Linked DNA regions of Homo sapiens: region 2 is linked to region 1. Evidence: promoter capture Hi-C in human tissues and cell types (Jung and others, 2019). All regions are on one chromosome and are shown on one strand. The core of a region is centred on a gene start or on the middle of the fragment in contact, and the rest is flanking DNA. Distances in the headings are between cores, read along the strand shown. Region 1 overlaps ZNF547 (zinc finger protein 547). Region 2 holds the start of ZNF814 (zinc finger protein 814).

Region 1 (3,740 bases), core at 1,241-3,740:
TATTGGCAAGAGCAAGGGAACAACAGAGCACAGAGGTCTCATGCATTTGAATAGAACACAGGGCCAGTGGGTCTCTATGTCACCTTCAACATTTCTGGATCCTGAGCCCTTTCTTGCAAGCCTCAGAACAGCAGAGGATGGGGCTGCCAGGAAAAAGGAAGCACACAGCACATATTGCAGTCCTGACTCTCATGGAACATATGTCAGGAAACAAGGAAAAGAAGCAGCACCCATGGTCTCACTGTGGGAAACGCAGAGCTGCCTTCAGGTAAAAGGAGACAACACAGCCCAACCCAGGACACTGGGCAAGTGTGAGGGCCTTACCTAGTGAGGACAAAAGGGCCAAATTCTCCAGCATCACATCACGGTACAGCAATCTCTGAGCCTCATCGAGATGCCCCCACTCCTCCTGGGAGAAATATATGGCCACGTCTTCAAAAACCACATGACCCTGCCAAATTGGGAAAGATGAATACATGAGCAGCTTTTCAAACTGTATTTACTTAAGTTCTCTATTTATTTTCTACTTATATTTACCACCCATTAAACACAGGGACAAACTAACAGCTAAATGTGTTTCCATCTCCCCTACCATCCTGGGCACATATTCTTAACCATCTCCATCTCTAACTTTCTCAAACCAAGTCAGTATTTCCCATGCTCTAAATCAACCCAGGGACAGGTACTGCACAACTAGGGACAGTCCCAATAGCCCAGGTGTCCTGGAATTACTAAAACTAGCCAAACTATCCTGACAGCCAGCCCTGCCTTGTTTCCCTTGGAAACCCCAACAGCATCTGTGGACTAAACTAAACTCACTCCAATTTTCCTCCTGATCAAATCTGGTGTTTCACCGTGTGGCCCTGTGTTATGTGGTATGTAACCTCCTTAGGGAAACGTAAGGAATAAATATCTTCTTTCAGTGTCATTGGCCTGTCCCTGGCATCACTCACTCACATCCATAAATTAAAACTCCATGGGGGCCAGGCACAGTGGCTCATGCCTATAATCCCAGCACTTTGGGAGGCTGAGGCGGGCAGATCACCTGAGGTCAGGAGTTCAAGACCAGCCTGGCCAACACAGTGAAATCCCATCTCTACTAAAAATACAAAAATTAGGTGGGCATGGCGGCACATGCCTGTAGTCCTAGCTACTTGGGAGATTGAGGCAGAACTGCTTGAATCCAGGAGGTGCAGGTTGCAGTGAGCCAAGATCATGCCACTGCACTCCAGCCTGGGTGACAACACAGCAAGACTCCATCTAAAAAAAAAAAAACAAAAAACCCCAATGGGTACAATCACTGCTACTTTTCTCTCTCCAGGAACTCATCCCTCTCCCCTACACCTCCTTTCCTTCCTCAATCTCTACACCCTCCCAATGTGGAAGAGAAACCACATCCAGGTGGCATGAGTGACTTTTCTCTCCATATTGACATTGGCCACCGTGTCCAGCACACAGAGGAAACAGATGGAAGATAAGGTAGAAAAGGAATGTGGGCCTCCCGTGGGGGGATCCATCCTCTCCTGCCAGCCAGTTTCCATGGAGTCACCCAGATCTTGCCTCCCAAGACAACCAAACTCAGACTCATCCTCCTCCCTTGAGCTACCAGGGCCAGGGCCTGAGGCCCTCCATTCACACTCCTCCTGCCTGCACATCACTCTTTGGACAGCACTCCAATCCCATCTCTCACACCTCCACTCCAGTCAATTCCACAGACACCTCCCAGCCCACACCACAGGCATTTCCTTCACCTCCTAACAGGCCACTCTGCACACAGAAACCAGGTGGTGCACGGCAAATACGCTCAGCATCCAATTCACTCCCAGTCCTGCCCCAGAACACCAAAGTTCCCTAGCACCGGGGGCAGCCCTAAGCCCTGGGTTGAAGGTTCCCTACATGGCCCTGTTTCTCACTTCACTGTCAGGTGCCCAAACCATGTGAGGACTTCACATACTCTCAGCTGTGTCCTGCCTCATGGACACAGGATTGTAAGTTTCCTGAGGCCTCCGAGTTATGCTTCCTGTTAAGCCTGAAGAACTATGGGCTGGGTGCGGTGGCTCACGCCTGTAATCCCAACACTTTGGGAGGCTGAGGAGGATGGATCACGAGGTCAGGAGATCAAGACCATCCTGGCCAACATGGTGAAAGCCCATCTCTACTAAAAATACAAAAATTAGCTGGGCGTAGTGGGGTGAGTCTGTCGTCCCAGCTATTCAGGAGGCTGAGGCAGAAGAATCGCTTGAACCTGGCAGGGAGAGATTGCAGTGAGCCGAGATTGTGCCACTGCACTCCAGCCTGGGCCACATCTCAAAAAAAAAAAAAAAAAAAAAAAAGAACTGTGAGTCAATTAAACTTCTTTTCTTCATAAAGTACCCAGTCTCAGGTAGTTCTTTGTAGCAATATGAAAACAGACTAATAGAATTCCCATCCTCATCTCATTCCAACTGATGCTTAGCAACTCTCCGACCTCACCCTATTACCCTCCTCAGCAACCCCATCATGTCCACTCTCCTTCAGAAGTCTTTCTCACTCCTATACCCCACCATCTCACATACACTCATCCCCACAAACACTCCATTCCCTCATTTGTCTAGTGACTCCTCCACCACTGCACAGCTACCCAGTAAGAGACCCAGTTCTCATGCCCCATTCCAATTCTCTGTCTTCGAACAGCACTGCCACCATAACCTAGAGATGCTGTCACCTAAACTGAATCCATGGCTTCATCCTGGTCCATACGACAGCCACCATAGTGTGGACGTCTCCAACCTGAACTCCTCCACCAGGAGTCTCTGAGACATCTGTGGCTTGAACAAACACTGACTCCTCACACTCACTCTGAAAATTCCTAATACTGCTGACTTCTCCCATCTTAGCTGATGGAGCATCTATGCTTCCAAACAAAAACCATGGGGCCACTCCTGATTCCCCTTCTATCCCACCCCCCCAGCTGCCTCACTCTCTACATCATAAAATGTGGGCAGCTCCAGTTCAAAACACATCCTGAAGCCACCGCTACTCTTGACAAGTCACCACCAACATCCACCTAGACTGCTGCAGGAACATCCTCTCAGATCTCCCTGCCATTACCCTCACCTCCACAGTCTGTCCTCCACTCAGACGCCAAAGAAAGTTCCTTAAGCTAGGGTCCTATCACTGCCCTCTTCTGCTTCAAATCTTCCCCATCTACCACCTCCCTTAGATTAGAGACCCAGGACCTAGGCTGTCATTCCAGGCCTGATGTTTGTGTGTCTCTAGCCACCTCCCACTCTGCTCCCTATTCCTATCCGATATAACAGACACTTGCAGTTCCCTAAAAATCCAGTTCAGTCTCTCCTCTAAACACTGAAACATTCTTAATCTTGTGCCCATGACACTCTGACAGATGTTACCACGTCAACTGTCAAAAATGGGAGCCACTCCACATAATCCAGGGCCATCCAGGTAAGGTGTCACAGTAAACTTAAAACAATCAAACAAAAATCCCAGACCTAATTTAAGATACTAGAACTGGTGGAATCACTCACTTTTCAGACATAAGAGAGGGAGAAAGACAGAAAGAGAGTCTCTGGACACCACTTTTCTTTACATGGAGGTGCCAAAACCATCTATGAGATAACTGGTAGGTGAAAGGTAGAAAACACTCCACTCACCTGTGCAGGGTTCATTTCTGCCATCGCCAGGGGACCCTGAAGGAAGAGGGAAACCGTGAGAAATGGGCAACGATGGGAAGATCTTAC
Region 2 (3,412 bases), core at 237-2,736, 520 kb before region 1:
ACCCAACCAATCAGCATTCCCCAATTCATGGCCCCCTATCTACCAAATTATCCTTAAAAAACCCCAGTCTCAGGAGGCGGAGGTTGCAGTGAGCTGAGATCGTGACATTGCACTTCAGCCTGGGCAACAGGAGCAAAATTCTGTCTCAGAAAACAAACAAACAAATAAACAACAACAACAACAAAAAACCCCAGTCTCGCAATTTTCAGGGAGACTGATTTGAGTAATACTAGTAAGACTCCAGTATGCTGTTCATCCAACTCTGTGTGAATAAAACTCTTTTTCTTTTGCAATTTCCCTGTCCTGATAAATTGGCTTTATCTGGGCAGTAGGAAAAATGAACCCTCTGGGTGTTTACACGTTCATTTTAACAATACAATAATGGTTATTAATCTTTGCATTAATCTTTGCTTCCAGTGGAAGAATTTTGCATCTGAAGGACCATCTGAAATGATAGGTGAATTTGGATCTGTAGCCTTTGGGAACATCTACACTAACTCTGAAATAATATTTTTCCATACACTAGGGTAATCAGTTACAGCCAATAACCCCAAGAAATCTCAATGTGAGTTCTAAGGAGAGGCAGGATGATCCTCTGCCTAGGAGAAAGATCTGCAATCTTTTATTTATTTTTTTATTTTTATTTTTATTTTTTTTTCCAACATGGAGTCTTGCTGTGTCACCCAGGCTGGAGTGCAGTGGCAGGATCTCACTCACCGCAACCTCTGACTCCCATGTACAAGAGATTCTCCTGCCTCGGCCTCCCCAGTAGCTGGGATTACAGGCGCATGTCACCATGTGGGTTAATTTTTGTATTTTTAGTAGAGGCGGGGTTTCACCATGTTGGCCAGGCCAGTCTTGAACTCCTGACCTCAGGTGTTCCACCTGCCTCGGCCTCCCAAAGTGCTGGGATTACGGGCGTGAGCCGCCCGCACCTGGCCCTTATTTTTATTTTTTAGATAAGAGGTCTCGTTCTGTTGCCCAGGCTGGAATGCAGTGGTACGATCTCGGCTTACAGCAGCTTCGAACTCCTGAGCTCAAGCGATTCTCCCTCCTCAGGCTCCCTAACCCTAACCCCAACCTTAGGGCAGCTGGGACCACAGGCCCGCCCGACCACACTCCGCTAATATTTTTTATTTTTTGTAGAGACAGGATTTTGCTTTGTTGCTCAGGCTAATTTCTAACTCCTGACCTCAAATGATCCTTGTGACTTGGCCTCCCAAACTGGTGGAATTACAGGCGGGAGCCACCATACCAGTCAGGACGCACATCTTAAGGATACTCCCGAGGTGAAGCTGGGCTTTTCCTGCAGAAGCGCCTCTGGGAATTGCGCCCTTTACCCTCCTTGTTGCCTAGGGAACTACATTACCCAGAAAACTCAGCCTCGAATGATAGCGTAGAAGACCTCTGAGGGCTCAGAATAAAGGCGTTTCCTGTGTGCACGTGACAATGGGTCCGGACTTCCGGCGCCCTCTGGTGGCGGCCATTTTGATTGGTGTTGGATTTATTTGTAGGAGAGGCTCCTGAGCGCTAGGTCCGCACTGTGGTGACTGAACCCAGAAGTCGGGGAGCAGTTGTCCTCCGCTGCACAGAGGCTACTCTGGAGCTCTGTGACGGCGCCCAGCGTGACCCACTCCTGGGCCAGGATACGGACCGTCGTGCCCATATCTCCTGGCTGGTCGCCCTATCCTCCCGACTCTGCTTAAAACCACGTGGTTCGATGGCTGCCGCGGCTACGCTGAGGCTCTCCGCTCAGGTAATTGTGGGGCCTTCTGTGTCCTCAGGTCACCTCATCGTCACCCAAAAGCAGCGAGGTAGCAGCGCCTGTTCACGGCTCTGCAGCCCGGACGCCGGCGTTGGGACACTGAGGCGCTTGCGGGAGGGGCCCCATTTCTGACACCCGTGGGATGCGGTGGGGAGACCGGCAGGTACAGGGACTGGCGCGGGCAAAGGCCTGGAAGTGAACTGAGCCAGAAGGATGGAATCTGGGGTCCACAGGTGCCTGTTGGGAGCAAATTATGAGGCGGAGCTCCTCCTGGAAGAGCAAGCAGGCTGGGGGCTATGAACTCACGTGAGGACCCTAGAAGGCATGGAGATTTTCGAAGAAAGGAGGGATGTCATGAGCATTGTAAGGGTAGAGATAATCAGGTCCATGCATGTTTGTGTCTTTGCACAGTGTCAGGTGATATTTGAGTCAACAAAAGCCATGAGCTAAATGGAGTTCGAAGGAGGCAATTCTCTTGTGATTCCAGTTCACTTGGTAGTTGGCCATGGGCACAGAGGCTGAAGACACTCCCCAAGTCAGTCAATATAGCAAACAATACACAATAGTATACTTAACATGTAAATGTTAAAGGTTAAACATAACACTGTTGTACCCGGGCGAGTTAGAAAAACGCCACACTTTGAGACGAATTAAGAGTCCTTTATTCAGCTGGCGGCCAAAGAGACGGCTAACGCTCAAAATTCTCTCGGCCCCGAGGAAGGGGCTTGATTAACTTTTATACTTTGGTTTAGGAAGGGGAGGGGAGCTTAAATGCAACAACTCTTCAGAAGTAAAAACATGCAAAAAATTAAAAGGATAAATGGTTACAGAGAAACAAACAATTTAAAAGACAAATGGTTACAAAAAGGCAAGGTACCAGGTGTGGCGCTCTAAATCCTTCATAAGAGTTAGATATGGGCACTACGCCAGACACAAACTCAAGGCTTTATGGTGTTATCTTTTGAGCAAAATCCTGGGAACTTCATACATGGTTTGTTCCCAGTCCCTTATCAGTTAATTGGACTCCTTTGATATGTTGAGAATCTGCTTACACAAGTTAACTCCTTGAGGAAAGGGGGGTGGGTAAGGAGTCCTTAATGTCTTGTAAATCAAGGGGGCCAGGTGGAGCTCGTCTGGCTTTCTCAGCTAAGCGAGAGTCTATTCATGTGGAAACGAGGCTAGGTGATTAAGAGAGCAAAAGGGAGAGTCTAAAAACAGGATTAGTGAAAACAAGGTTGGGCATTACAACACAAGGAACAAAATAATGCTTAGCATCAAGAGGAAAAAGATATAGGAGCAAACGTTATGGAACCAGTTTAGAGGGAGCAAGGAAGACAAAAGGCATCTTGGTCTGGGCCAGTTGGTGGGCAATTGGCCTGCAGTCTTACAAGGAAGAGTCTTTGAGGTGGCAGAGCCTTAGGCAGCAGATGCTGAGTTTTGAGCTGCTGAAGGCCTAATCTTTTACAGTTACAGAATACTCTGGTGAGAACTGATAGTGGAAGAGTTTCCTTGTTTGTGACCTTACCTGGTTAGATGTAGTCTTTATTTTTTATTTTGTTTTGTTTTCTTGAGACGGAGTTTCGCTCTTGTTGCCCAGGCAGGAGTACAATGGTGTGATCTCGGCTCACTGCAATCTCTGCCTCCCGG

What was found. The method cuts DNA at HindIII sites, captures the fragments that hold promoters and counts their contacts. A contact is called where the count stands out against the background at its distance.
Region 2: a contact is called between the fragment with the promoter of ZNF814 here and a fragment that was not itself captured in region 1, in 3 of the 25 tissues and cell types used here (aorta, dorsolateral prefrontal cortex and small bowel).

The regions. Positions count from the first base shown.
Region 1 is chr19:57,368,493-57,372,232 of GRCh38, reverse strand. It overlaps ZNF547 (zinc finger protein 547), which reads right to left. Exons shown (of 4, transcript NM_173631.4): 2 at 3,654-3,689; 3 at 325-451. The coding sequence starts at 3,677. Among named protein-coding and RNA genes, the nearest start is that of ZNF547, 6.8 kb to the right of the region's middle. The HindIII fragment of the contact is 8,803 bases long and covers 1-3,740 here.
Region 2 is chr19:57,887,111-57,890,522 of GRCh38, reverse strand. It overlaps ZNF814 (zinc finger protein 814), which reads left to right and starts at 1,486. Exons shown (of 3, transcript NM_001144989.2): 1 at 1,486-1,756. The coding sequence starts at 1,721. RefSeq lists enhancers at 1,776-1,825, 1,499-2,041, 2,042-2,585, 2,610-3,342. The HindIII fragment of the contact is 24,676 bases long and covers 1-3,412 here.